7 separate regions of the Homo sapiens genome follow, and regions 2, 3, 4, 5, 6 and 7 are each linked to region 1. The links are contacts of gene promoters, found by promoter capture Hi-C in blood cells and fetal thymus (Javierre and others, 2016). All regions are on one chromosome and are shown on one strand. Each heading gives the region's core, a stretch centred on a gene start or on the middle of the fragment in contact. The rest is flanking DNA. Distances are from core to core; before and after follow the strand shown.

The links. Contacts are between HindIII fragments. The CHiCAGO score rates a contact against its expected background, and 5 or more counts as called.
Region 2: a fragment that was not itself captured here is called in contact with the fragment with the promoter of ANGPT2 in region 1 in 9 of 17 cell types (naive B cells, fetal thymus, erythroblasts and 6 more); the score reaches 11.3 in naive B cells.
Region 3: a fragment that was not itself captured here is called in contact with the fragment with the promoter of ANGPT2 in region 1 in 4 of 17 cell types (total CD8 T cells, non-activated CD4 T cells, activated CD4 T cells and 1 more); the score reaches 7.1 in total CD8 T cells.
Region 4: a fragment that was not itself captured here is called in contact with the fragment with the promoter of ANGPT2 in region 1 in 17 of 17 cell types (naive B cells, total B cells, megakaryocytes and 14 more); the score reaches 24.5 in naive B cells.
Region 5: a fragment that was not itself captured here is called in contact with the fragment with the promoter of ANGPT2 in region 1 in 8 of 17 cell types (fetal thymus, non-activated CD4 T cells, naive CD8 T cells and 5 more); the score reaches 8.3 in fetal thymus.
Region 6: a contact is called between a fragment that was not itself captured here and the fragment with the promoter of ANGPT2 in region 1, in 13 of 17 cell types (naive B cells, total B cells, fetal thymus and 10 more). The highest score is 22.2, in naive B cells.
Region 7: a fragment that was not itself captured here is called in contact with the fragment with the promoter of ANGPT2 in region 1 in 10 of 17 cell types (total B cells, naive B cells, fetal thymus and 7 more); the score reaches 18.1 in total B cells.

Annotation. Positions count from the first base shown.
Region 1 is chr8:6,561,542-6,565,766 of GRCh38, forward strand. It overlaps ANGPT2 (angiopoietin 2), which reads right to left and starts at 1,704. Exons shown (of 9, transcript NM_001118887.2): 1 at 1,106-1,704. The coding sequence starts at 1,393. All of the region lies in intron 12 of MCPH1 (microcephalin 1), which reads left to right. RefSeq lists enhancers at 521-1,046, 1,047-1,573. The HindIII fragment of the contact is 4,979 bases long and covers 1-4,225 here.
Region 2 is chr8:6,813,349-6,817,573 of GRCh38, forward strand. It overlaps XKR5 (XK related 5), which reads right to left. Exons shown (of 7, transcript NM_207411.5): 6 at 2,459-2,570. Among named protein-coding and RNA genes, the nearest start is that of XKR5, 20 kb to the right of the region's middle. The HindIII fragment of the contact is 4,153 bases long and covers 205-4,225 here.
Region 3 is chr8:6,349,027-6,353,251 of GRCh38, forward strand. No RefSeq gene overlaps it. Among named protein-coding and RNA genes, the nearest start is that of MCPH1-DT, 55 kb to the right of the region's middle. The HindIII fragment of the contact is 224 bases long and covers 2,298-2,521 here.
Region 4 is chr8:6,763,256-6,767,480 of GRCh38, forward strand. No RefSeq gene overlaps it. Among named protein-coding and RNA genes, the nearest start is that of MIR4659B, 20 kb to the left of the region's middle. RefSeq lists an enhancer at 639-688 and a silencer at 4,179-4,225. The HindIII fragment of the contact is 3,191 bases long and covers 298-3,488 here.
Region 5 is chr8:6,377,077-6,381,301 of GRCh38, forward strand. No RefSeq gene overlaps it. Among named protein-coding and RNA genes, the nearest start is that of MCPH1-DT, 27 kb to the right of the region's middle. The HindIII fragment of the contact is 408 bases long and covers 1,902-2,309 here.
Region 6 is chr8:6,741,253-6,745,477 of GRCh38, forward strand. It overlaps AGPAT5 (1-acylglycerol-3-phosphate O-acyltransferase 5), which reads left to right. Exons shown (of 8, transcript NM_018361.5): 5 at 409-499. MIR4659A (microRNA 4659a) reads left to right here and starts at 3,912; the gene lies at 3,912-3,992. MIR4659B (microRNA 4659b) reads right to left here and starts at 3,988; the gene lies at 3,916-3,988. RefSeq lists enhancers at 3,203-3,482, 3,513-3,592. The HindIII fragment of the contact is 519 bases long and covers 2,061-2,579 here.
Region 7 is chr8:6,721,726-6,725,950 of GRCh38, forward strand. It overlaps AGPAT5 (1-acylglycerol-3-phosphate O-acyltransferase 5), which reads left to right. Exons shown (of 8, transcript NM_018361.5): 2 at 3,145-3,214. Among named protein-coding and RNA genes, the nearest start is that of AGPAT5, 15 kb to the left of the region's middle. The HindIII fragment of the contact is 7,430 bases long and covers 1-4,225 here.

The DNA of each region.
Region 1 (4,225 bases), core at 454-2,953:
TTGTGCTTTTTCTAGGGTCATGCGTCAAATGAGGCTCACCAACTTTTAAAAGACTTTACATAGCTTTAGATAATCACATTCCCTGCCATGTAAGCATTGTGATGTAATGGCATCATCATGCTACTTAACAATTAATTTATGCATTTTGTTTAAACTTCCTTTAGAATATATATAGTCCATATAAAGAAAATTCCAGGTTCGTTTTGGATTTTGTATAAATAGCTCCCATGTTTACATGTGAAAAAAAATTATTTATGAAAGAAAAACAGAGCTTTCAATATCCTATTTTGGTTACGTCTCCATAAAAACTCTAGGAAACAGTGGGATCATCTGTGAAACAGTGGAATCACCCCAAGAACAAACTGTCAGACAGACCGTCCTGTCGTGGCATGACTTGAACATAACCGTCCCACGTGGGGACGCATTCCGCACCGGTTGCTGGAACTGACGGGGGCTGCAGTGCTGAATACCTCTGGGACGCTTGGGAACTGTGCCCCTGTTTACAGACGGCAAGCCCTTAGTGGTAGGGCCCTGAGATTCTGAGAAACATAAGGTCTGCTTTATTTAATTTCCTCTCGTTTACCAAGAGTCACAACCTATTTTAGTAAATAAATTCAGGAAATTGGTAAAGCACTTTACTCCATCCGTTATGCCTCGGTCATCAGCATGGTTGTCACGGTCTCTCTGGCTCACGGGCTGCTGCGGCTCACAGCCTTCCCTCACTTGCCTGCAACCAGCTGAGAGCCTCCCTGGTGATGGGTGTTACTGAGCTTAAACGATGTAAACAAACAGAACGGCACACAAGTTGTGCAGGGAAGTATATTTCCTCTACCTTGTTAATAAAGATTTCTAACTTTAGAGATTTTCTGTATTGACTCTGGCATTCTTTCCAAATAATTATTTTCACCCCGGGGACTACCCACACACCCTGGGATAGAATAAAAGAAATTATCTTTCATTTGAGGGTACCAGCAACCCGCTCTCCAGCTCTAATCCTCTTCATCCTCCTTCTTTTTTTTTTTTTTTTTTTGGTTGTTAAAACCTGAGCTGCTGCCAAGCTGATCTTAATAGCATGTTCACAAAGACAGATGGATTTTTTTCCTACCTTCATTAGCCACTGAGTGTTGTTTTCCATGATGTTCTCCAGCACTTGCAGCCTCTGCACCGAGTCATCGTATTCGAGCGGCGCGTCCCTCTGCACAGCATTGGACACGTAGGGGCTGGAGGAAGAGCGGCAGTTGTCCATCTCTGGCAGGAGGAAAGTGTAGCTGCAGGACCCATGCTGGACCTGATATTGCTTCTTTCCTATGCTGTCCATGCTCTTCCGAAAGTTGTTATAGGCTGCGGCCAAGACAAGATCACAGCTCAGAGTAAAGAAAACAATCTGCCACATTCTTTCTTCAGTAATAAACCAGCAGCTTAGCAAACTTGAGGGCAAACACACGTCCAGAGTCCCGAGCTGCTGCCGTCTAAAACGCAGGGCTGCTACGCTGCCATGGCTGGGTCCGTCAATGAAAGTCTTCTCTTTCCTCTTTTTCCAGTAGCAAACCTGGTTTTTACTGCTGTGTTCTCTCCAGGCATGCAGTAAACTGTCAGATTGCAGTGGGAAGAACAGTCCTGCTCACTTGGGAGGGCTGTGTCAGCTTTTACAGAGCAGCTTTCACGGTCCTTTGTTCCTCTCTCCCCAGATCCTACAGTGTCAGTATCCGAATCAATCACTTTCCTTTCCTTATATGATAAGTTGATAAGAGCAGCCAGACATGTGTAGTGGGCTGCTCCGCCCTCCTGGCTTAGCCGTTATCTTCCTGTAGGGGGTCACTAGCCAGGCAACAGGAAAAATCAGAGCAGAATGCCTGCCCTCCAACCAGGACCCATGCTGCAGAAACCCTCTGGGAAAAACCGATCTGTTACAGGACCCCTGGGCATTTCCTAGGCACCACCCCAATTAAGTATTTCCTAGAGAGAGCAGTTGATCTCTTTTGTCTGAAACTGATTTTTGCCGTGCTAAGCTGGCAAAATATCTGAGGTAATAACTTTAATGTTGAAGTACAATGAAAGTTCCTGTTTTTTCCTTTAGGAATAAAAATATTACAAATAGGTCAGGACTTCGGTTTATTTTTGTTATTACAAATAAAGAGGAAGAAGTTTGGCTCCTGTAAACGTGTGCCTTTTCAGAGGGAAAAATAGATTCATTGATTTTAGTTGATTCTTGAACCACTAGCCAAGTTACAAAAGATTTTCATTTCCGAACAGTTGGATAGAAAGATCTGTTATTAAGTCACGTTAGAAACATCAGTTTCTGAGCTCTGACCTTTATTCTTTAAAAAAACTCCACTTGGATATTCACTCTAAAAATACACTGTACTGATTAAGTTCATTACATTACAATAGAGAAATTAGAATTTAAGTGCCTGTGTAGAAAGAGGAATACAAACTTTTTTTTTTTTTTTTTTTTTTTGAGACGGAGTCTCGCTCTGTCGACCAGGCTAGAGTGCAGTGGGGCAATGTTGGCTCACTGCAACCTCCGCCTTCCGGGTTCAAGTGATTCTCTTGCCTCAGGCTCCTGAGCAGCTGGGATTACAGGCAAACGCCACCACACCCGGCTAATTTTTGTATTTTTAGTAGAGACAGGGTTTCACCATGTTAGGCTGGTCTCAAACTCATGACCTTGTGATCGACTCGCCTTTGGCCTCCCAAAGTGCTGAGATTACAGGTGTGAGTCACCATGCCTGGCCCACAAACTTCTTTATTGTGTCAGAATTTGTTGACATCTCAGCATTTTGTAACACATTATCAATTACATTAGTCCCCCTTGGTATTAGACTCGGGCAAGTCACTTCCCTGTTTTAATTAAGCTCTAATGTCCTCATCTGTGCAATTCAAGGGGTGCACTCACAAGATTTTTCACCTTCAATCCTATGGCTCTGTAAGTTCTGCAAGTCACTTCCTTTAACAACTAAAACTTAATACTTCAGAGATTAATAATATGTTAACTCAGCAGCCCAAGTGTACATAGGGAAAAAGCCCCCTGCCTTTGCTGCGGTTTATCTCTCAAGGTACAAGGTTTATTATTCCCAGTGAGCGCTGAATAGCTGGTACACTGACTTAACAGACCACATCTACCCATAAAAGATCTTTATTTTTTACTAAGCTCTAACCGAAAGACAGCCTTTCCCTTATCAATGAATAGTTAACGAACAACAGTGTGAATATCTGTGACTTTCTCATCCTCAGAAATCAGCTCTTTTTATTTGCTGCCACAATACTCAGAACTACATTTTTATTAAACCCAGCCCTAGATCTTGCTACTGAACATTGGAATAAAGTAGCATGTGTCTTCTTTTGAGAAGGTGTTTATAGGCTTCACCAGACAACCAAAGGGTTCTGTCACACAGAAAAGCTGGAAGACATGCTCTGGAAGGATCTCATTAGTAGAAGAGGTAGTATGATTCCACCAAGGTTCTGGACATGGTTTCCACTAAGGGAACCAATTAAAGATGCTATACCCATCCGGACAGTGCACCGTCGAAGAAAGCATATAGGTCTTAAAGATGAGACCTGTGTTAGAACCCTGCTTCTGTGTGACCTCCAGCAAATGCTTCCATTCTTGGAGCCTCAGTCTCCCTAGTCATAAGATGGAGATCATTTTTTCTCTGTAGGGTTTTTAGGATTAAGATATAATTGTATGTTTAGAAATATTTGTTCCTTTTCTTTACAGGCATGCTCCATTAAATGGGGATCAGTTCTTCCACCATCAAATAGTATAACTCTGCTATTCTCTGAATGCAAAGCAGTGGCAGTGGCATAGGGTACAATTTTTTTATTTCCTGTTTGAAAAAGCATATTGTAAGGTATTAATATCACATATGTGGTTTTACCTTTTTTCAAGATTATTTTTTGTAGAGACGGGGTCTCACTCTTGTTGCCCAGGCTGGTCTTGAACTCCTGGCATCCAATGATCCTCTTGCTTGGCCTCCCAAAGTGCTGGGATCACAGGTGTGAGCCACTGTACCTGGCCTGCATATATGGTTTTAAAAGTCATTCAGTTGTCTTCCAGGCAAATAGAGTAGTTTAAAAGGAACAAATAGAAAGAGGGCACACCACAGTACTTTTTGTCTACCAGCCTTGTGTCAGACACCATGCTATGCACTGGGGATAGAGATTAAGGCAACTGGGTGTCTGACCTAAAGAAGCTAATAGTGTATGGAGAGGGAGAGACCCATAA
Region 2 (4,225 bases), core at 1,031-3,530, 250 kb after region 1:
TTTACAAGCAGCCACCCAAGGCCAGGAAAGATGAACAAAGGCCCCTGATCACAGAAGTCCTGGGCACACTTATTCAGTGAACACAATCTTTCCAGAGGCCATGTGGTTTGAGGGTTCTTGGTGGCATCCCCAGGCTGGCACGCAGTTGGTACTCAGTGAATATTGGTCCCAGGATGGAAGGAAAAGGGGAGGAGCCTGGATGCAAGCTTGTGCTCCTTGGACTACAATTTGGGTTCAATCTTCCTGCCTAGGATTCCCAAGGGTCGGCTGGGAGTCAGGGGTTTGGCAGCTCCATCAGAGGCCGGAGGAGGAGCGGCAGACAAGGCTCTGAGCCGGTGGCCACCTGGGTGCTGAGTGCTGCCCGTGGCTATGGGCTCCCTACTCACTGCCCGTGGCTATGGACTCCCTACTCACTGCCCTCCAGCTGTGCCGTGGGCCAGCATACTGGCTGTGAAAATGTCTTCTCACTGGAGTGGAACTGGAAGGAAACCAGGCATCCACTCTCAGGAGTGTGACAGGTTTTCGGAGTGGTGTAGGACATCTTTTCTGAGTCAGTGTTAAAATCCAGAAAGTAGATGAGGGGACATTTTCCCTCCCACCACACTGCCCCCAGGACTCAGCTATACCTCCCGTGAACTGGAAAATCCAGATGAGTTGTTAGACCTCCCGGCCGGCAAGGCCCCTTCATTCCAAGTATCACATGGCCCCTCCCTGAAGGAAGGATTGCTTGAAATATGCCAGGAACACCCAGACCACGATGCAATGTGGTGAGAGTGGTGCTTCTCACCCGGGCAGCGCGATGTCCTCAGTTTCCCATAGGCCATTTATCCACACACACAGCTTAGAAATCAATGCTCTGCGATTCAAATGATTATTTTAAAAAGGATGAACCAGATGCCCGTCCATGGGTCGACGATGAAACAAGCTGTGGTCCGTCCAAACCATGGGATGCGACTCAGCCATCAAAAGCAAGGAGCAACCCGGGAGGCTCTCCGGAGAGCTCTGCCAAGTGAACAAGACCGATCCCCAGGGTGCACACACTGTGTGGTACTTTCACAACGCATTCTCCAAGTGATAGAATAATAGAAACAGAGAACAGAATAATGGTTGCCAGGAGGGAAGGAGGTGGCAGGGGCGAGAGGAAGGGGGCCACATGAAGGGTCCTCGTGGTGATGGAAGGGTTCTCCCTGCACCTCGACGTACTACTTTGAGATCCTGGCTGTGATGTTGTGCCACCGTTTTGCGAGATATTACCACTGGGGGAAAACCTGGTAATGGGTACGGGGAGCTCTGTATTATTTCTTAAAACTACAATTATCTAAAAAGTTTGATTTGAAAAAGAAGGGGTTGTCTCAGCTACCTGAAGCTGGAAGAAGTGAGGACCCGTGACGTCTCATGAAGAAGAACAGAGCTGAAACCCAGGGTGGCCTGTGGCTCTCAAATGCTTGTTACGAAGCCACAGTGTGTGACATTTCTCTGACCCGTGAACAGCCCCTGCATCTCACTAAGTGTTTGTGTCCAGGTCATTCCTTTCCCAGGTCCAGGCCACTCACACAGGCCACATCCAACCCCCGGCTGCTGTGAGCAAGAAAAGAACCCGAGGCCACTTCCAGGCACCTCTTCAGGGTGTGGGTGACAGAGAGCAGGCTCTGGAGGGAGGGCAGGAGTTGTTGCAGAGGACTGGGGAATCTCTGTCCTGGCCCATGTTGCAGAAGCACGAGGCCCCACGTGAGAGGTGCAGGTGCTGGCTTTGACGGTCCCACCGCAGGCCTGAGAGTGACAGTGGTGGAAGCCTGCTGTGCTGGGAGAGGAGGCTGGTGTTCGCACCTTTCAAGTGGGGGGCGGAATCCCTGCGGAACTCATGCCAATCTGGGAAGCGAGGTCATCACCGTGGGTGTGACACAGACCTTGGGGCCATGCATTCATAAAACACGGCTGATGACAGTGCCAGGCCTGTGCTCAGGCCTGCACTGGAGCTGGGCTTGAATCTCAGCTCTATCTGTTACAAACCATTGGATCTTTCGGGGACTCAACCTCCTCTGTGCCTCACCTTCCTCTCCTCCTCTGCTAGGGCACCCACTTCCCGGGGTGCTTGTCTATGGGCTGCAGGGGGTGCCATGTCAGGAAGATGTGAGGAGCTCCCCTAGGTGGGAGGGGAGAGAGAAGTCACGTCCTCAACCCTGCAGGAAGCTCCGGGGAGGACGGGGGCTTTGGGGTAGAGAGGGATAGCCCCAGCTTTGCTTGAGGTTCCGAGCACAGTCAAGCAAGGCAGATGAGGCTGAGCTCAGTATCTCATGCTCTGATGGGCATGGCTCTGCCCCCCACATCGCAGTGAGCCTGGTTCCTTGGTCTCCAGTTAACCACATCTGAACTCAGTTTCCTACCCTTTGAGCCCATTGTAAAAAAAAAAAATACGTTGGGGAGGGGATGCAGAGAAGAAGGTGACATTGGGACTTACCAATCAGAAATCCAGACAGGACCCCAGCTATGGTCTGCAGGCTGGTCCACGATGCCCCCTGGAGAAAGTCGGTGGCCAACAGCAACAGGATGATGTTCTCCAACAGCATGACCTGCGGGACCCAGGACAGAGGCACCACACCTCGTCAGGTGCACACTGCCTAGGGACCCCCGTCCCGTGAGTCTGCAGCGGCTCCCCCTCCCCTCCATCCTGAGTGCCCACTGGAGACTCCAGGCTGCTGAGGAGTACCCAGGAGCAGGGCTATGTCCCACTGAGACCTTCTCTGGCAAAGAGAGAGCCACCCTGTTCTCAGGGTGGCTCATTAAAGTGTCTGCAGAATCATAAAGGCCCAGGAAATGTAAGGGCATCCCTCAAATGGCTGTGGGGCTGCCTTTAGAGAGTCATTATGGGCTGAGAGGGGACTTTTATTTTCTACTTTGCATATTTCTCCATCCTCACACTAACTGCAGGCACTCATTAGTGTTAAAATGAAAGATAGCTGCAGAGCTCATGATGCCACTGAATTCCAGGGAGCTAGGGTCACAAACTTTCTAACAACTTTAGGATTTTGTTTCCTTAAAATAATTGCTTTGCGGCCACCAGGTGGCAGCCGGAGACGGGAGCTCGCAGGCTGACAAAGGAGCCTGGCCCCGTGGCTGCAGCTGGTCAAAATGGCAGATGGTCCAGAAGGCTCTTTGTACGCCCATCTGGGTCAGCTTATTAACTTTGCTTTCCAATTTTTAAATATAAAAAGATACGTCTTCATTAAAATAAGTAAACAAATGACATAATTCAAAGACGATATATTTAAATACTGTGTGTTTTATATTTAATATATATTTTAATTTATTTTTATTTAATTAAATAATTATTTAATTTAATTAAAAATAATTTAATTTTATTTAATTAAAATATAATTAATATATATTTTAATATATTTAATATATATTTATATTAAATACTGTGTATTTTATTTATTTAAAAATAACACTTAAATTATATACTGATTTGCTAAAACTCTTCAAAAGATTTGCCAGGTTATTCATTGGCTTCGTTTTTCACTCTCAAAAATTCAAATAAGGAGAGAAATAAAAAAAATTATGAGGAGCTGCTTCGTAATCCTATGAACATCCATTCTCCCAGTCCCTCTGTGTGCAATGGGCAGGGTTTCTGCCCTAAATGCCTTGGCCAGCAGCCAGTACAGAAGGCATCTTTCTCTCCCCACTCCTCAGCTGTGTGGTTCTGGTGGTTCAGATTCTTAAGTTTGTCCCAACTCCGTCACCTGCCTCCTGTCTTTCCCGCCATTTCCGTGGTTCTGGCCCCATGCCTCCTGTCTAGGCAACCCCTATCTTCATTCTCTCTCTGAAATCTCTCCTCCACACCAATGTCAGGGTGACCCACTTCACCCAGAGATTGCATCTTGCCATTCCTCCCCGATGCACCTTGAAACAGCCCCACCTTAACTTCAGGATCCAGTCCCTACTTCTCAACAGAGCAGATGGTCCTGTTTGCCACTTAGCGCAAGTTTTCCTTTCTGGGGTCATCTTCCAGCATGCTCTTCCCAAACGACATTCCACTGACAAACAGTCTTTCCTCAACCAAACTCCAGTCAGCCTTCTCTGAGCCTTCTTTTCCATGAGTCTTCAACCCTGGCCAACGAGAACTCCAGACTCAGCACATATGATTCCCCTTACCTCCCCACACCGAGAGACTTGAACAAACACTGACCGAGTTTCCAGCAGCTCAAGGCCTCACCCCTACGATGCT
Region 3 (4,225 bases), core at 1,160-3,659, 210 kb before region 1:
TAATAAACAGACAAATAAATGCAACACTCAAGAATAATATTATTGATTTTGGAGCATTTTACATAGAAAAGAAACAGAAAAGAGAATGTGTTTGTGTTGATTGTTTTCCTGAATGGAACTATAATAATCGTAACCAACATAGTCATCTATATTTAAAAGTCAAGTAACGGTGCTTTCAACTCACACATAAAATCTCAAAATGTGAAAGATTTCAGGCTGCTGTACCATAGATGTTCAATGAAATTTTTTCTCTTCCTTTCTTTCTTTCCATTTGTTTTTCCTGGCTTTATTAAAGCATAATTGACAGATACATATTTCTTTCTTTAAATATGTCTACCTTCCATTATGTGGTATGATTACATACCTTTGAGGGCTTACGTATCTAAAAAATCTTTCCTAATTTGATAATATCTTTTTTTTTTTTTTTTTTGAGATGGAGTCTCGCTGTCGCCCAGGCTGGAGTGCAGTGGCACAATCTCGGCTCACTGCAGGCTCCGCCTCCCGGGTTCACGCCATTCTCCCACCTCAGCCTCCCGAGTAGCTGGGACTACAGGCGCCCGCCACCACGGCCGGCTAATTTTTTGTATTTTTAGTAGAGACGGGTTTTCACCGTGTTAGCCAGGATGGTCTCGATCTCCTGACCTCGTGATCCACCCGCCTCGGCCTCCCAAAGTGCTGGGATTACAGGCGTGAGCCACCGCGCCCGGCCGATAATATCTTTTTATCAGTAACATTGTCTGGTTATATTTGCTTGACTTCGGCAAGTTCGCTTCTGGAACATCAGGACACTGTGGAGATTAAGTTTCTTCCCATATTGTTGTTTTTCCCCCCAAATCATCAGGCAACCTGAGCTTTGCAATACCCAGAATTGTCCACAGTCCTAGGTCCTTTTGCAATCACGATTACGTCTCCATTTCTTATGTGTCTGTAACCTCATTGTGACCTTCAGTAATTTCTCATTTGAGGTTATTTTTTCCTGGTTTGAAGCATGACTGTGGCAGTCATCTTAATGAATGATGCTTGTTGAGACTGGCCACAGTTAAAGAGTGAACTCTGGCTATCACTCAAGTTTCTATTGATCAGTGAAATTTCAGGGGGGAAATCAATAATTAGCAATTTCTTTTTCTTTCCAAAATATTGGAGGAAACAAAGACATGTGATCGGTTATTTACTACTCCAGTTGGTGCAGAGAATTCAGGAGCTTACCCACAGTCACTTAATCTTTCTCTGCTTTAATGAAGCTCCAGCCCTGACTTCAGCATCAGGTCAATTTGACTGATTGCTGGGGGACTTGCCAAAATTACCTACTGCCCTTAGTTGTTCAATTCCAGAAACTGGAAAATAACTTTGGAGGCAACTTTAGGAGGAAGACTATTTGTCCTCTATATAGTCTAACCACCACCCCAAGACCCCCTATCTTCCTCTTTAAGAAACAGGAGATAGGGCTGGAGGCAGATGGGCTGAAATCTAAAATAGGTTGCAGCAAATATTCCTACAGTCATAAAATATGCAAAAAGCATCCTTTAAATGTTAAGTATTTGGTTGACTCATATGACATTGCCGCTTTTGTAGACTAAGGACAGTGAAATACCAGTGATTTCTTATATTTTAACCTAAATAAAGCTGGCCAGGCTCTGGGGATACAGCAGAAAGTGAGGCAGATACAGCCTTTGCCCTTAAGGCAGGGAAAATGACATGAAGCTTTGTCACATGACATGTTATTAATTATGTTGTGGGCTCTGCCACAGAGCAGGTAACAGAGGAACTTTCCACTGGGGGTAGTTCTGGGATGGCTTCTCTGCAGACGTGACCTGGAGGTTTCATGCTGAATGACGAGCACAGGCTGATAAGCAGAGGCCGGAGGAGGTGGGGACATTTCCGGCTGAGGGGACCACCCCAGGGGGAGCTTGGGGAGCTGTGCAGTGACTACAGATAGAAAGATGGGGTTCATCAGAGCACCACACAGTTCCCTGGGAGGCAACCGCCCTCAAGTGAAACTCCCAATGAGACACTATAGAATTCTAAATATTTTATAATGGCATTTATCTCTAGAAGCAAGAAAAACGCTATGGTTGATGGAAAGACCAAATAGAATTAGATACGACGTCAATAACTTTGCATGGCACTAAAATGTCTTATGGAATTAATTTAGAGTTTACAAAATGGAGATTTCGGTTACACCTGATTTAGGAATTTTACCATTTATAGATGAGATTGTAGTGATTATTCAGATGCAATGAACAGAAGGGAAGAAGCCAAAATCAATCTTTCTAACAAGATTCTCTACACTGCTTGCAAGCTTTTGTGTTTCATCAAATATATATTTGGAGTTATTTTTCCTCCAGATGAATTAATTCTCCATTTCCTGGTTTAAAGTATTTCCTTTCCTGCTCAGCTGTCTCATCTCTGAGAGTGTTTTTATATTTCATCTGCATCATCAAGTATGTTTACCTAAAATGGGCCCTCTGACACAAATTTACACGTACCTGTTCCAAAATTCAGGTTCATTTTGGGGGTCAGAAGCTTTTCCTCTTTAGGAAGGCCACACAGCAAAGTGGTTAAATATAAAAACTAACAAACAGAAAAGCTGGGCTTTGGAATCCACAGGCCTGGTTCTGATTCCCACTGCTGTGTAACATGACTTTGTACAAGGCACTTGATCTCTCTGAGCCACAATTTTTGTTTATTTTAAAAAGGAAGATAATTTTAAAAATGTGCATAATAGAGTTTTTATGAGCAGTAAATGTCATAGTGCATATATTCACTTAACAGAAAGCTTGGCACGTATTGTGCTTAATAAACAGCAATCATCATTTTGTTCAATATTATGTGCAATTCATGATTTTCCTGAAGTAATCAATAATAATAACTTTTATTGAACATACCCTTTTAGGCCAGGCACTGCTTTGTAAATTTAACATATATCACCATATTATTTTAAATCCCCTCAAAGTTGATCTTATTTTTATCAGTTTGGGGAATGAAGTAGTGTAATGCAGTCTTCAGAGTACGGTTTTCAGAGCCGGAAGACCTGAGTTCCATTGCTGATTCTGTAATTTATTAATAGCAAGAACTTGGGACAGTCATTTAGTTCCTCTGGGTCTTTGTTTCCTCATCCGAAAAATGGGATACACTTATCAGCTTATATAGACTTTGTGGGAACTGACTGTGACATAACATGAAAATTACAAAGTACAGGCCGGGCACGGTGGCTCACGCCTGTAATCCCAGCACTTTGGGAGGCCAAGGTGGGCAGATCACGAGGTCAGGAGATCGAGACCATCCTGGCCAACACGGTGAACCCCACCTCTACTAAAAATACAAAAAAAAATTAGCCGGGCATGGTGGCGGGAGCCTGTAGTCCCAGCTACTCGGGAGGCTGAAGCAGGAAAATGGCATGAACCCAGGAGGCGGAGCTTGCACAAGCATCTGTTCTGCTTGCTGTAAAGACGCATCCAGGAATAAATATAGTCTTTGTCAGAAATTTACTTAAACTAGTGGAATTGGGGCAGGGCACGGTGGCTGACACCTGTTATCCCAGCACTTTGGGAGGCTGAGGCAGGCAGATCACGAGGTCAAGAGATTGAGACCATCCTGGCCAACATGGTGAAACCCCGTCTCTACTGAAAATACAAAAATTAGCTGGGTGTGGTGGCGTGCATCTGTAGTGCCAGCTACTCGGGAGGCTGAGGCAGGAGAATCTCTTGAACCCAGGAGGCGGAGGTTGCAGGGAGCCAAGATCGCGCTACTGCACTCCAGCCTGGTGACAGAGGAAGACTCCGTTTCAGAAAAAAAAAAAAAAGATAATTACAAGGTACAGCTCCTTATGCATAGTAAACATAAAAAAATCTTAGCCTGTTTTATGATTTTCACAAGGAAATTGAGGCTCTAAGAGAATAAGTAGTTTATTAAAGGCAGCAAGTGTCAACACCAAGATCTGAGGGCAGCTCTAAGTCCAAAGTCTGTGTTCTTTCCAGGAGACGATTTGAGTAAGTAACCTTGACCCCTGTTATTCTAAACACTGAAAAGCTTGTCTACTTGCCCTTGTCGGACACAAGTTGGCTAAATAGATTGTGGTCTTTCAGCTACCATATTCACTACAGTTATCAGTTGCCTTGTTTTCCCTAAGGGTGGCTACTTATACCTTACAAAATCATCCATCTGAACTCCAGGACTTTTCAGTAGCAGCTGGATAAGGAATGAGCCATGGAGATAAATACACAAG
Region 4 (4,225 bases), core at 643-3,142, 200 kb after region 1:
GATGTTATTGTTTCCTTGCCTTGGTTGATTTGGTTTTACTGTGAAATAATTTTCAATATAGAATTGTGATCGTTGGAATTTGGTCATCTAGTAGAAAATGAGAAAGAAGTTAATAGCTATCTTCCTTAAAGATTTCTGAGGTTGGGATTAAGGTAGTGTTCCCAAGGTGTTCTAAAACGGCAGCGAGAGCTGTGCACTCACTTCACAAATTTGAATTCCTGCTCTGTGTTAGGCGCTGTGCTAGGGGCTTAGCTTAGCACAGTTATTTCCAGAGGTTCCTGTGTATGGTGTGAAGAAAGCTTCACAAAGACTGTAGTGAAGCCAAAGATATAGTAGGGAATGAAAGCAAGGCATCACCACTTCCTGTGAGGACACGTTACTGCACAGGCACCCGAGCTGTGTCATCTCTACCATGTGCCTTGTTCAGGTTTTGGCAGAGCCCCTAAGCATATGCCCAGGAAGGGATCTATGTGGAAGTTGGCTCTTTCTGATGCATTCGGTGTTAGCTGGTTCTCGATGGTCGGTGATTCTTAGCTGAATCCAGAAGGGTGAAAACAGTTGCTGCTCCGGTGTAGTTGAGCTGGAGCATGGCGGCACATCAGGGCCACGTCACTGATGACACCATCAGTAACACACTGTGTTTCTCTTAAAACAGGGGCTTTCTGTTGTCCAGATGATCAAAACACAAGGTTCTTCATAACTCATTCTGTGTATCAGTGTTTCTTGTTTGGGAAGGAGATTGGGGAGGAGTGGCTGGGAGTAGATGGAGAGCCGGGCTTACGGGCATGGATTCTAGAGCCAGGACACTTCGGTTTGAGTCCCTGCCCTGCCCTGCCACTGGTCAGCAAGGGACTGTGGTCAGTTTTTTATTTTTTATTTTTATTTTTTCAGACAGAGTTTCGATCTGTTGCCCTTGCTGGAGTGCAGTGGCGTGATCTCGACTCACTGCAAACTCCACCTCCTGGGTTCAAGCCATTCTCTTGCCTCAGCCTCCCAAGTAGCTGGGATTATAGGCGTGCGGCACCACGCCTGGCTAATTTTTGTATTTTTTAGTCGAGATGGGGTTTTGCCATATTGGCCAGTCTTGTCTCAAACTCCTGGCCTCAAGTGATCCACCTGCCTCAGCCTCCCAAAGTGTTGGGATTACAGGCATGAGCCACCGTGCCGGGCCTTGTAGTCAGTTTCTTAATCTCTGTGCCTCAATGTCCTGAAATACAGAATGAAAATAACAGTGATGGAACCTACCTCACAGGCTTGTGAGAATTAAGCGAAATCATCTATGTGAAGCACTTGGATTAGTGCCTGTCACATTCTGAGTGCGCAAATGTTAGCAACTTTTGTTACACACACACACACACACACACACATACACACACACACACGTCCATAAGGGCATTCTGCCTTATACTAGAGCTAATAACTTTGTTACATTTTAGGTTTTTGGTATGTTGCTCTAATAGGGCATGTAACAAATGCAAAATAGACATTTTCAAGTAAAATGAAGTATACAAAAAAAACCCATAAACGATGTACCCCCTCTTCTTGTGTACTAACATCTTTATCCTTTTTGTTTCCATATCTCCTCCCCTCTTTCTGTTTCTAGAAGTTGACATAAATGAAAGATAATGAGATTAGAAATAAATCCAATATAAAGTATGCCTCCATGTGTCTAAGTACCTGGTAATTTCTGGCTCTGTTCTCTCCAACATGGTTTTTATTCCTGCACCCACTCTCACTGGCTCGTGGATAGATTTTGGTTCCTGGTGTATTTTATGACTTGACTGGCAGCTCCAGTCTGACATAAAACTGGCAATAGAACTTAAACTGAGCTTGGCCTCAGAGTGGTACAGTGAACAACGACATTGTTCTGAGGGTCAGGAGATCTAGAGTTGCGGTCGGGTCCCAAGTATGTAGCAGTGGGTCTCTTCTTTCTGGACTGCAGCGTCCCCTGGGACGTGGCTGCTAAAGACCTTCCCATCCTACAGTTTCATTCTGCATGCTGTTCCCCGGTGTTGTGCCAGCCACCTGGGCCCAATGCCTGGGGGTATCTTCAACCACCCCTACCACCTGTCTCTCTAAGCAAGTCTACTTGGTGGTTTCTTCATCCACCTCCATCTGCTTCCCCTCTATCTTCACCCGCTCAACACCCTCCCCACCCCCAACGTCCATTACCACTGAGCTCAAGGCAATGCAGCCAACAGCTTCCCCAGTTGCTCTGTTAGGACCTGTGAGCCACAAACCCACCCTCCACATCAGCACTTCCTAGTAGGGCAGCCGGAGCCCCATGTGGCTATAGAGTCCTTGAAATCAGAGAAGTTAGTGTACAATGCCAGACTTGGAAAAATAAGTACAAAAAATAAAATAGTTCATTAATCTTCATGTTGATTACATATTTGAGTGATATTTTGGACATATTGTCCTCAATAAACTATATTAAAATTAATTTGACCTTTTTTTAATGTGGCTACTAGAAGGTTTAATATTCGCTATATGGCATTATATCTCCACAGGGCAGACCTGATGTACAAGATGACTTAAAGGCGAGGAACTTTCACCCCAACCTTTGTGTCTCAAAACTGCCGTGATTCCTGGCACTGATTAGGCAATCAGCAACAGTTTGTTTAACTGATTCAGTAGGCATAATTTGAGATAACATTTTAGGGTTACCTCAATCATAGTTATATCATTAAGTATCACCTGAAGATTATTTTATTTTATTTCATTTTATTTATTTTATTTATTTTATTTTATTTTATATTTTTGAGGCGGAGTCTCTCTCTGTCGCCCAGGCTGGAGTGCAGTGGCGCGATCTCGGCTCACCTCAAGCTCCGCCACCCGGGTTCACGCCATTCTCCTGCCTCAGCCTCCAGAGGAGCTGGGACTACAGAGGCCCGCCACCACGCCCGGCTAATTTTTTCGTATTTTTAGTAGAGACGGGGTTTCCCTATGTTGGCCAGGATGGTCTCCATCTCCTGACCTCGTGATCCGCCCGCCTCGGCCTCCCAAAGTGCTGGGATTACATGCGTGAGTCACCGCCCCCGGCCCACCTGAAGATTTTCTAAAGCAATTGTGTTTGAATTTTATAGTCCGAAGTCAATAGATTATTTTAAAAAGTAAATGGCATAATCAATAAACATTTAATAAATGATATGGAAGTTACGATTTCAAAGAATATTCCAGGAATTCTTGGAGTTCAAGAAAAAGCACAATCAAAAAATAAGATCTGAAGCAAATATGAGAATATTGAAATGTGTTCATTCTGAATTGGCCTTATACTGAATACTATGTTATACTATTCTCTGGGTTTTTTGGTTTTGTTTTGGTATATTTACATTTTTTTCCGAATTAAAAAATTTTGTCAACTAGGCATATCAGTTATTTTGTCTAAAAATATTCTGAGCGGATTCCATACCGTATTATGGTTACTAATTAAATATGTCACCACTCTTCTTTGATCACTAATTCAAGTATGGGTGGAATCTGTCTAAAGCTTGTAATCTTCAAGGAATTGTAAAAATCCTCCTGTTTCTTACTGGTGTATTTCAATGAATGTAATCAATTAATGGTACTGTGATTCCAAATAGTAATTACTGAGAATATCTGTTTGCTCTTGCATCTGCTTATAATGAAGAGCTAAATTTTTGTTGCTTCTGTCTACTCCTTTCATTCTTCCCAAAGGAAATTACTTGGGATGAACTGTGTTGAAAGACAGCGCGTTTATAGTGGCCTCACAAGTCACCTAAAGAAAGAAGCCAGAGCGATCGATGGCATTTTCTCATCTTCCTAGCCCACATCTTTAGATTAAGGTGCTATAAAATCCGAAGGAAGGGATTGAAACGGCCTTTGCAAAATTATGACTGAGACAGTGAAATAGATCGGACTTAACTGACTTCATCTTGCTTCTAACCTCTAAGCTGTCCTTGTTCATTCCTGAGCCCAGGCTGAATTAACTTTGGTAGAAACTTAGTTTATAGTTTAAACAAAGATGGTAACAGCCCTTTCCCAAAGCAGACCTCCTTCTTGCCTGGGGACTAGATTGCCTTTGTAGGACTAACTTAGCCACAAGATTAGAAATTATGGTTTAGGAGTCACGCAGCTGGACCCCTACAAGAGTCTGACCCTCCCTAAACTGCTCCTAAGATCAATGCTTGAGATATTTTGCAGACCTTGAACTTGATGGGTCAGCTGGCCCCACCCAGATCAACAAACTGGCTCATCTGATCTT
Region 5 (4,225 bases), core at 856-3,355, 180 kb before region 1:
CTCATTAATATCCACATCCAATAAGCTCAACAAATTCCAAGTCATATAAACTCAAACACATACATGCCTAAACATGTCATAACCAAACTGTCAAATGTCAAAATAAAGGCAGAATCTTGAAAACAGCAAGAAATGACTTATCACATACAATGAACGTCAATGAGATCAACACCTGATTTCTCATGTGGAACCTTGGAGGCCAGAAGGCAGTGGGATGATGTACTCAAAACCCTGAAAGAAAAAAAAAACTGTTAACCAAAAATTCTATACCTGGTAAAACTATTCTTCAAAAATGAAGATGAAATTATCAATACATCTGCTGATAGTTCAATTCACATTTAACACTCTGTAAAACTTTAGGGAAAACTTTTTTTTTTTTTTTTGAGACACAGTTTTGCTCTTGTTGCCCAGGCTAGAGTGCAATGGCACAATTTCGGCTCATTGCAACCTCCACCTCCCAGGTACAAGCAATTTTCCTGTCTCAGCCTCTCAAGCAGCTCCAATTACAGGCATGCGCCACCATGCCCAGCTGATATTTTTGTATTTAGTAGACATGGGGTTTCACCATGTTAGTCAGGCTGCTCACAAACTCCTGACCTCAGGTGATCCACCTACCTCGGCCTCCCAAAGTGCTGGGATTACAGGCATGGGCCACCACGCCCAGCCAGGAAAACTTCTATAAAACATAAAAATGTTCCAAAATAAGCTGACTATACTTGCTGAATTTTGATATTAAACAAAATATTTTGCCATCTTGGTAACCTAACATAGATGTTTCCATCAAATATTATGTGATGCACATCAAAGTTACTTCAAGTCATAGAGGAAGAAATTTAAAAGTTTACCCACCAATGACTTCCATAAAAGCTCCAAGTAGAGAAAAGAATTATGACAATGTGCTAATCTGGTCCAAGCATTTTTGCCTACAATCAGAACCAGAATTTTTGTTTTGTCCATTATGTTTCAGCACTATAATTTCACTAGTGATTCATTTGTATATTTATCTACTGACACAATTCTAGAAATTCTTTGTGAAATACATATACATTCTGTTAAAATTTTTATGTTTCCTGTAAAACACACAGAAGTGCATGCACACACATTGTTGTTTTTTATCAGTTTTACCTAACTGAAAAGCAAGTGAGTTGACAGTAACTTGATTTAATCATAATGTAGCTGATATGCTTTTTAAAAAATGCTTCAGCATCTATTGATTTAGTTAAGTCTATTTTCACAGAATAATAAAAATTTTTTTGTTTGTTTGTTTTGGAGACAGAGTCTTGCTGTTGCCAGGCTGGAGTGCAGTGGCGTGATCTCAGCTCATTGCAACCTCCACCTCCTGGGTTCAAGTGATTCTCCTGCCTCAGCCTCCCAAGTAGCTGGAACTACAGTGCACCACCATGCCTGGCTAATTTTTGTATTTTATTTTATTTTTATTTATTTATTTATTTTTGAGACAGAATCTTGCTCTGTCGCCCAGGCTGGAGTGCAGTGGCATGATCTTAGCTCACTGCAAGCTCCACCTCCTGGGTTCACACCTCCAGAGTCCCAGCCTCCAGAGTAGCTGGGACTAAAGGTGCCTGCCATCACAAAATACAAAAAATTGACTAATTTTTTGTATTTTTAATACAGACGGGGTTTCACCGTGTTAGTCAGGATGGTCTCGATCTCCTGACCTCGTGATCTGCCCGCCTCGGCCTCCCAGAGTGCTGGGATTACAGGCGTGAGCCACCGTGCCTGGCCTAATTTTTGTATTTTTAGTAGAGATGGTGTTTCACCATGTTGGTCAGGCTGGTCTCGAACTCCTGACTTCATGATCCACCTGTCTCGGCCTCCCAAAGTGCTGGAATTACAGGCATGAGCTACTGTGCCTGGCCCAGAATAGTAAATTTAAATGCAAAAGCTTAACTAAATTTTAACAACCGTTACCATTTATTTAGAATCTTTGAGCTAAATCTGTGGGACTCATTATTTCTAATTCTCCCATCAACGCAGCAGATGGGTATCATTATTATTCTCAAGTTACAGATGAAGAATACAAAGATTAAGTATGTTGCTGAAGCTCATGCTTAGTAAATTGTAGGGCTAAGGTCTGAAGATTGATCCCCATGTGAAGAAGAGTCATTCTCACCACACTGCGAAAACTTAAGGTTCTCACCCTGAAATCTGCTGCCTACATTTTTCAATCCCTTGAAACTGCTTTCAATAAAGCCCCCTGTGGCCTCCTTGTCACTAAGTTTAAGATGAACAATTTTTTTTTCTTTAACTTTTAAGTTCAGGGGTACAAGTGCAGGTTTGCCACATAGGTAAGCTTGTATCATGGGGGTTTGTTGTACAGACGATTTCATCAATCAGGTATTAACTTTAGTACCCATTAGTTGTTTTTCCTCATCTTCCCCCTCCTTCCACCCTTCACTCTCTGAAACGCCCCAGTATGTATTGTTCCCCTCTATGTGAGAGCTAAATGATGAACATTTTTCATCCTTATCTTCGTTGACCCTTCCACATCTGAAATTGTGACCTCCTCCCTCTCTGTGAAACAGAACCTTCTCTTGCCTTCCTCACCACCACCCTTCTGGTTTGCTTCCTACCTTCCTGGCTACTCCCTCTTACAATCCCTTGCCTATTATACCTCCTCCACCTCACTCATAAAGTTTGGAGCCCTTCAGAGCTCTGTTCTAAGTGGCTTTGCCTTTTCTTTTCTCATCATTCAATAATGCAACAAAATTTAGTGAACCTCTGTTATTCACAAGCACTTACGAGGCTTGGGTACCCTGCAGTGAGCAAGAGAGGTGAACATTGAGTAGATAATGACATGAGGAAGAGCCAAGACGGGAGGTTGGAGAATCCATGAGGAAAAAGTCATGCAGTGCCTCACGGGCTGCAGTAAGGATCTGCATATTCCTTGAGGATAGCATAGTCATTGAGGGACGTTAAACAGAGGAGTGATGTGATCTCATTTGTGTTTGTATAAGTCCACTCTGGCTACAGCAGTAAGAATAGATTGGGGTTGGGAGTGGGGACAATCACCATCATTCTTGGTCAGGCTTACTTTGAGACAGAGTCTTCCTTGTCACCCAGGCTGGAGTTCAGTGGCACAATCTTGGCTCACTGCAACTTCCACCTCCCAGATTCAAGCGATTCTCCTGCCTCAGCCTCCCGAGTAGCTGGGATTACAGGTTTGCACCACCACACCCGGCTAATTTTTGTACTTTTAGTAGAGACAGGGTTTCACCATGTTGGCCAAGCTGGCCTCGAACCCCTGACTTCAGATGATCTGCCCACCTCAGGCTCCCAAAGTGCTGGGATTACTGTCTCCCCAGATAGTTTTGGCGTTAAAGTATATTGAAGGATGGTAGTCACTGAATATTTCACATGCTAGTCTTGTGGTACAAAAATATAAATATATACTCCAAGGTCATGAACTAAATGAAAATACTAATAGGCAGGGGTTAGGGACTGATTTGTGTCTCCTCCCGCATCTTGTATGTTGAAGACCTAACCCCAATGTGACTGCTTGGAAATGGGACTTTTAAGGAGGTAATTAAGGTTAAATGAGGTCATAAGGGTGGTCTGTAATCCAATGTGTCTAATATCAGGACCTGATTAGATTGAACTTTCATAGTCTCCATTCTGATAATTTCCTCATTAATTTTATAACCAGAGGTCACGTGCTGTGGCTCACACCTGTAATCTCAGCACTTTGGGAGGCCAAGGTAGGCGGATCACCTGAAGTCTTGGGAGTTCGAGACCAGCCTGACCAACATGGAGAAACTCCGTCTCTACTAAAAATACAAAATTAGCTGACCATGGTGGTGCATGCCTGTAATTCCAGGTATTCAGGAGGCTGAGGCAGGAGAATTGCTTGAACCTGGGAGGTGGAGGTTGCAGTGAGCTGAGATTGTGCCATTGCACTCTAGCCTGGGCAACAAGAGTGAAACTCCATCTCAAGAAAAAAAAAATTTGTAACCAGTAAACAATTTTTGATTACAGTTTATTCAAACCAATAAAATTTTTGCTGCCCTGATCCTTTGATTAGAATTTAAAGGGGGTTGGCTGGGCACGGTGGCTCACACCTATATTCCCAGCACTTTGGGAGGCTGAGATGGGTGGATCACGAGGTCAGGAGTTTGAGACCAGCCTGGCCAACGCAGTAAAGCCCCATCTCTACTAACAAAAAATACAAAAATTAGCTGGGCATGGTGGCAGGCACCTGTAGTCCCAG
Region 6 (4,225 bases), core at 1,070-3,569, 180 kb after region 1:
GTGTTGGTACTTAACGATACTGATTTCTAAAATTTGTATTTCTAAAAATGACGTATTACAGGATCTGAAAGGGCAAAAACTCATTGAGGCTTTGTATGAGTCAGCGTTTCATGGCCTATTTTTAATTAGTGAATTATTAGCATATAATTAGAAATGTTTTTAGATTCTTCATGGCTGACCTACCAATGAATGTAGCACTGCATTTAAAATATAGTTCACGTTATGTTCATATTTAATTGTTGCATTTTGTTTGCCCCTCTTGAAACGAAGGTCACATGTAAATAAATATACATTTTCTCCTACTGTAGGAAATACTCTGTTAGCATTAGTAGGTTTAGCTTTTTTAGGTTAACAATAACAAAAACAAAGCTCACACAAAATAAACCAAATTTGCTCTATGTCCCACAGATGTATCTTGTGATTTTTCCAGAAGGTACAAGGTATAATCCAGAGCAAACAAAAGTCCTTTCAGCTAGTCAGGCATTTGCTGCCCAACGTGGTAAGTAAAAATTTGAGTGTTTGAACAAATAATTTTCAAAGATAATAACATTTTTAGTTTTTCTTCCTGGAAAAGATACTTTTGTTTTACAGTTGAAGGAATGAATGTATTCATTCCTTGAATTAGTGTACATATTATCTCTTAGGAAATGAAGTTTCTTCTCCTTAATTCACTTTCATGCTATTATTACATATATCTGAGAAATTAAGTTGAAGTGCTTGTTACGATACATATTCTTGTGCCATGGATTTATTTAAAATCTATCTAAGTACATGATTATGTAGATGGAAGCTTTTTCTACAGTGTATGGGTTATATGTAATGGAGCTTCTGTTTTGTAAGATGACAGACCTAAGTTGGAGTCCAAACTCGTACTTTTATTAGCTGTATGGTTGCAACTTGGAAGTTGTGTAATGTTGCTGAGCTTGCTTCTTCATCTCTTAAAAGAACATATGCCTTATAAGTAGATCTAAATCTGTGTGAGGATTAGATTAGAAAATATGTCAAGTTTCTATTGGAGAAGTTACACAAAGTTGGTCCACAGTGCTTGGAAGCTGTTAATGTCTTCAACAATGGTAATGTTCTTAATATCCATATTTTAGAAAATTGAATAATTGGTACACCAATAAGCTATGCAATTTAACCAAATTGGGAAGTATACAGAAAACAGTGGCTATGCTATGTTCTTAGAGGTGTCTTTGAAGCTTGACTGTGATTTAGTGTGTGATCTCCATATGTTGATAGTCACTCACTGAGCAAATACCTTGTTGGTGACATTACAGCAGGGCCTATGACAGTGCTGTCTAATGGAACTTTCTGCAATAATGGTAAAGTTCTTCATCTGTTCTGTCCAGTGTGCTGGCTCCTACCAATGTGGTTTTTGAGCATTCAACATGTGACTAGTGCATGAAACTAATTTTTAATTTTATTTAATTTTAGTTTAATTAAAAATAAGGGGGAGTTTTTACAAGGTGCTTACAAGAGCAGATATGTCATAGGTATATGACATCATTTGTAACAGTACTTTTAAAAAATGCCAGTTTGTTTTTAAACACATGTCCTATTAAGTAAGGAGTGTTTCAGAATAGGAGGGTTCAGTTGGTCTCCCCATCTGCCAGCTCTCTTTTGACTTTCATTGCTTCCTCTGTCTAATAGACATGACGTTCTGTCATTTCAGTTGCTCTTTTGCAATGCCATTGTCTCTTTTGCCCTTTTCACATTTATTAAACAGAACAAAACAAAAACCACTCTCGAATCTGTAGTCTACCTTTGTTGTAAGCACTTTTTCCAGTACTCACTCTGCCCTCAATTTGTTTTGGTCTGATTTGAAATTCTCTCCCTAGACTTCTGTGGGGCTGTTCTCCATTATCCTCCCAACTCTCTGGCGATTACTTCCTAGCCTCCTTTCCAGCCTCTTTCTGCTTCATTTCTCCCTGCTACATGTGTTATTTCCAGTGTCAGGTTTTGGTGTTTGATTAATTTCACTTTTTGTTTCTCATGGTGGCCTTCCTCTAAATCCATGGCTTTAGCCATCGTTTCCTTGACTGCTGATGACTCGCAAAAGCTTCCTCCCCTCCATGTCTCTCTGCCTAACTCTGGACCCATTTGTACAATTGTCCATTAGAGAGCTTCGCTTGACTGGCCCAAAAGGATGTCTCAAACTCAGCATATTGAAGATAGAATTTATCCTTCCATGCATACACTCATATTTCTTGTCTTGGTAACTCCATCATTCAGTTTTTTTGCCTAAGTTTTATTCACAAAAAGAACAAATTGATAGCAGTTGCATACCTCTTATAGGAAACTTAGACATGGAGGAAGAAGCTGTTCAGATGGGGTCCTGCAGAAGTGCAGGCACTGTGGTAATATTTAAACTTTTCTCAGCTGTTCGAAGGGTTTTGTTTTAACTAATTTTCCTTAGACTTGTTTTAGGTATTTGGCTTTCTAATGGTTATAAGGGATGTGGAATTAAATGTATCTTAATCTGCCACCTGGACCCATTAAAGTAAGCCCCTATGGTGGTTTTTTTTTTTTAATTGCCATGGTTAAAACCATAGTTGCTAGCGAAGGTGACATACTTAAGCTTTTTGAACTCTCTTAAAAGAAAACAGAAATTTAATGATGTGTCTATAATGGCAAACCAGATACCTAGAATTTCCATGTTATTCATAGGGTGAATAACACTGGCGATTGTAGAGATTTGAGAGTTCTTTCAAAACAGGAGAACAAAGGGAATAAGCTACAAAGCAATTTTTTTCTTTGTAGACTTAACTGAATAAAAATTATTTTTATGTCTCAAACATCATATGAACAAATTTAGTTGGCAAATGGCAAGCTAATAATATTTTATAATATAGGATATTAATATACTTAATATTACAAAAGTGCTTCATAATTAGAAAAGACATAAACTAGAAAAATGGGAAAAGGGCATGAATAAGAAATTCAAGAGATACAAATGACCCACACACTTGAACAAATGTTTATTCTTTCTCATAATCAAAGAAGTAGAAATTAAATGAATACTTTGAAGCCAACTTCTGAGAAAGCATAGCAAACAAGAAAGCTAGTGCTCAGCTTTGTGTGGTAACGGCACTCTCGCTCTTAAGAAGGTGTGTTTGCTCCCTGTGGCTGCTCTCAGGCAGGGCCACAAACTTGGTGGCTTAAAACACCACAGATTTCTTCTCTTACATTTGAGAAGTCTGAAATGGGTCTTACTCAGCTGAAATCAAGGTGTTGGCAGGGCTGCAGTCCTTTGTGGAGGCTTGGGGGGATCTTGTTCTCCTGTACGGGGTCCTGTGCTTGGTTCGGGGTCCTGTGCTTGGTCTGGGATCCTGTGCTTGGTTCGAGGTCCTGTGCTGGGTCCAGTGCTCTGCTTTTACCACCTTGAAGTTCATCTGGAAATGGCACTGGCTCGCCCACACCATATAGCTGACTCTGGTTCTCCCTCCTCCTCACTCGCTCTAAACCTGTGTTTTTGGCTGATTTCTAATCTCTCTTTCCTTGGCCCTTCTGCAGCTTGCAGGGCCTTCTGCAGCTCTTGTCTGCCCCAGCCCCGGGGTCTGCCCATCCCAGTGCTGGGCTGTTCTGTTCCTGCCCTGCCTTTCCTCAGCCCTTGGCAACCCTGTTTGTTTTCTCCCTTCCTTAGCAGTGGAGAACATCGTAAGATCAATGCTGACTGCCTTCTGCAGCCAAGCCAGGCCATTTCATTTCAGCCGAGCCAAGTCTGTGTGGAGCAGTTCTTTTATTTTTCTCCTTTTGACTACCTCATGGTTTTCACGGATTTTTGTTCTCTTCACATTCAAGGATTTTTTGCTTTCAGAAAGTTATATTTCTCTGGAAAGAGTGCACCCAATATCCCTTTTGATTTCAAAATCTTAATGTGGAGTCTCTTGACTTGGATTTCTTTGGAAGAAACTGCTGAAGCTGCCATGTCTAAGAAGAAAACTTTGGAGAAAAATTTTCTTCTTAGACATGGCAACGTCAACAGTTTCTAAGCTCTTGATTCCGTCTACCCTGTCTCCATCGTTGCCTCAGTCATCTGCCTTACTTCTCTGCAGGGGTTTCTCCCAGCTTGCAAATGTACTCCAATTCTGAAATAACTAAGTCTATAGCTGTGCAAAGAGAAGTCTGGGCCCCTTGCTTTCTTGTGTTTGACTCCATCCACTCTCCAGAAATGAATCCCACTTCTCACTTAACCACTGACCTCCAAAGCATCGTATCATTT
Region 7 (4,225 bases), core at 1,726-4,225, 160 kb after region 1:
TTCCTTTACCCTTGTAGGGTAGCTAGGGCTTGTGAATTAAGAGACTGATTAACAGGAGAAGAGGCATACACATTTTTTTGACGTTAGTATTTTTACATGCACAGGGAAGGAGGGTTTTATTTTTATTTTTATTTTTATCTTTATTTTAAAGAGACAGGGGTCTTGCTGTGTTGCCAGGGCTGGACTCAAACTCCTGAAGCCAAGCGATTCTTCTGCTTGAGATTCCTGAGTAGCAGGGACTATAGGTGTGCTCCTCTGTGCTTGGCTAAAGAAGGGGTTTGTATGTGATTTTTAACAAAGGCTGATAAATTGTGAAAAAGTGACTAGTCAAAGGAGAAGAGGATTTCAGCTCCCAGGGGTGGTAAATTGTGGGAAGATGACTAGGAAATGTATAGTAATAAGGTTTGCTATGCAGGTTTATTTTGCCAGTTTCTGGTCTCCTAATAAGGGACAGGGAAACACCTTTACAGATGGAAATTCATATCACCTTTCCACAGGGAAATTTATGTCCTGCCTTAGGCAGTTAGGGGAAGGGCAGAGAATTCTTCCTGTATCTGCTGTGTCTCAGGTGCCTTCAGCTCAAAATAATCCTTATGCCAAAGTAGCATATTTGGGTGTGGCATATTCTCTGATCTCTTTCAACAGCATCATCTATACTTAACAACAGCAAAAGTTTTTTTTAAAAAATCATGTTTCAAGATTTGCATGTGGAAGACAAATGGACATGATTGAGATAAATGAAGAATATATATTTTTTAACAAAGAATGCTGTATATTTATGTCTCTGTGACATTGTGTTATGGAGGCTAAGGTGTTAAGCATGTGATTACTTTAGATGCCGTATGACTACCTGTTTTTAAGATTAAAAAAGAATCAATAGGCAGTTTATATGTCATGGGAGCAAGTTAAAAACAACACAGATGTGATGAAGGCGAGGTGAAACTGGTCCGCATCTAATTCAGGCCTTCTCCTGAAAGCCAGTGTGTGCAAGATAAATAAGTTTTTTTGACGAAAGCAGAATAACTAGTTTGTCCTTTGTGATGAAGATAGTTATTCAGAAATCATTTTTATTGGCTACCTCTGAATTAATAAATGAAAAGAGAAATTTTTTTTTCTGTAGGGGATGTCTGATGAGTTCTTAAAAAGTGGATGAACCTGAAATTATCATGAACAAGCAATCATAATGAACTTAAAATTACTTAAAGAGTTATGAAAAACAAAAAGAAAAGCCGTATGTTTTCTTGTGCCTTATTTTGAAGTGACAAATTATTTGCAGGGTACATTTGTAGACGGAACTAATGTGATTTAAAAAATGAGTACTAGATTTACAGAATGAAGCCTTTAAAAAGTCACTGGTGCACTTTAATTATTTTATTTATGTTTATTCTGAAACTACCTTTATTTTGAAAATGAGGTATAGCTTTGCCTACTGGTGACAAAAGTGTAAATAATTCAGTAAACATCTGTTAAAAACCAGCTTGGTGCTAGGCTCTTGGGGTAGAAAACTGATCAGGCCATTGAGGAGCTCATAGTCCCTAAGGGGCTGGGGACTTGTCATTAGGTGTGCAGTGTGTTCTGGATGCTCCTGAAGGAGTGTGGGCAGGTGCGCACCACCATGCCTGGCTAATCTTTTTATAATTATGTAGAGACAGGGTCTGGCTGTGCTGCCCATGCTGGGTTTGAACTTCTGGGCTTAAGAGATCTTCCCTCCCTGCCCCTACCGACCCCGCCCGCCCACTCCACCTCAGCCTCCCCAAAGCACTGGGATTGCAGGCATGGGCCACTATGCCTGGGCTGTGCAAAACTTTTAAATCAGTGCATACTCAATGGTCTTGATGCAATTCTGGCTTGTTGGTAAGAGAATGGGGATTTACTCACAAGCCACGATGTCACTTTTAACTCTGAACAGATCAAGCTATTGGTATTACTCATTTATGTCATCGATAAACTTTATGAATAAAAACTCATTGTGCAAATGTTTAAACATACTACATACATAGCACTGTGCAGTTTCTAAGGAAAGTAATGGAAACCTTTGTCACATCCCTGGCTTCCAGAACTTTATGTTATCTAAGTGCATTTGTCTGCAAAGTTGTTGGGTTAATTGCCCCTTTCTTTCTTCTCTTTTTAAGATATTAATAAATAGTGTCATGACCAAAAGATAATCCTTATGGACAAGATAGATCTAAAAAGCCTTAGCTAATTTATAATCTTGCATAATCCATGATGACAAGATGCAGAAACAAAAATGCCCAGAATAAAAACTTAGCACCATTAGCAGCCATTTCCTTTTAAGTCTTTACAAGTATACTCCCAGTTTCTTGAAAAATTTATTCTAAAATATGTAAGACACACAAAACAGCAGAAGGACTAATACAGGTACATCGAACACCTGTGTGCCTACCGCCCAGTTTAAAAATAAACTGGAATGATGTTTCTCTCATACTTACAGAATAAAGTTTTAATCTTTAGCATGGAATTCAAAAGACTTCTGCCATTCCAGTTCAGAGCCACCCTTCTGGTCTCCTTGCTCCTCAGCCGCGACACTGCCCATGTTCCCAACAGGCCTCCAGGGTTACTGCTTCCATTCGTTCTTATTCTCATGAACATTTTCCTTCATCTCATCTGCCAGAATCCTACCTAATAATACTCCTGCTCTGCAGTTTACAGTTCTTTAAAATTAAAAAAGGTTGTGTACCCTTTAGTGTCCTGAAAAAAGAAAAAACAAATTTAAAACCTTAAAAAGGTACCATATTTTCATAGTATTTGCGTTATGTCTCATTACAGTTCCTGTGGACATGTCTGTCTCTTTTACTAGATTGATTGTGGGCTCTTTGAAGGAAGATATATCTTATGAACAGTGTTTTATATATTGTTAGCAATCAATGAATGCTTGCTATATTTTTCTCATGAGGATATTGATTATTCTATTTTAATTTATTACCGTTAACCTGTACTATACATAACTGCTTTCTGTACCTGCGCTATTTATGATCTCTGAGGCTCCTGTGAGAAATCTAATTTTTGTTAATCATGGATGGAAATATTCACAACATCATTCGTCAGTTTCTTCACATTGTCTTCCTTTGTATATTACAGATGTTTTAAAATATCAAAGTAATGTTTTTTTGTTTTATCTTTTAGATATTGCTATATGGAGATTTGCCAAAAAATAAAGAAAATATAATATATTTAGCAAATCATCAAAGCACAGGTTTGTATTTCATTTGCATGAAACATAGGTTTTTCTACAGATGGCACATGGGCATTCAAAATACCGTTCTTATATTTAAATGAAGTGGGTTTTTTAAAACAGCAATTTTCTGTGCAGATATTACACCTGTTCTTGTATTTTTGTGATTTTACTTTTTGGAAAGTCAGAAACTTGAAAGCTATGAATTTTCCTAAACTTACCTTCTCCCTCTGTTGGATGTAAGTAAGCTATCTTCTTACTTGCTTGCTTTGTTTTTCCTTTGTGTAGCTCTTTAAAGAGTGTATTCATTCTTTTTGTAAGTGATGTTTCTAGAAGTAGCATTGGTGGGTCGAAGTGTGTATACATTTTACATTTTTGATTGCTAAGCTGCAGAAAAGCTGTATTGGTATGTAAGTACTCGTTTCCTTACTATGCTCGTCATTTCTAGTGTCTGCTCTTCCTTTCCTTCTTCAAATGGGTTTGGTTTAATTCTAGTTGCTACTGTTCCATCAGAGGAATTGCAGAGAACTGGTCTTCAAAACAGTGCAGTATATACTTTAGGTGAAGATACTTCTAAAAACCTTTGTATTTTGAGGTAATTCTAGAGTCCCAAGAATTTGCAAAAAGAGTACATTGTCAGCAATATTTTTCCCAATGGTGACATCTTAATATAACTGTAGCACAGTAGCAGAATCAGGAAATTGTCATTGGGTAAGGTACTTTTTAATTCTCCAAATAATTCAGCCCTCCAAAAAAATCCCACTTCTTATGTTTTCAAACCTGTAGCTACTTTTGATGCGTACTTCCTAAATTGCATTTTTATTACTTTAAAAAATATAATACCTAGAAGCTCAAAGCTGGAAACAGCCTGATCAATATAGTACTCTTAAGCTAAAAACAACCTGATCAATATAGTACTCTTAGGGAAATCACTTATGCCTGTGGCTTTTTTTAAATTTTCTTCCTGTCAGCTGTCTCTTCATGATTTTGTGGTTTTTATTACTGCTTATACCATAGATGAGGTATAGAAAG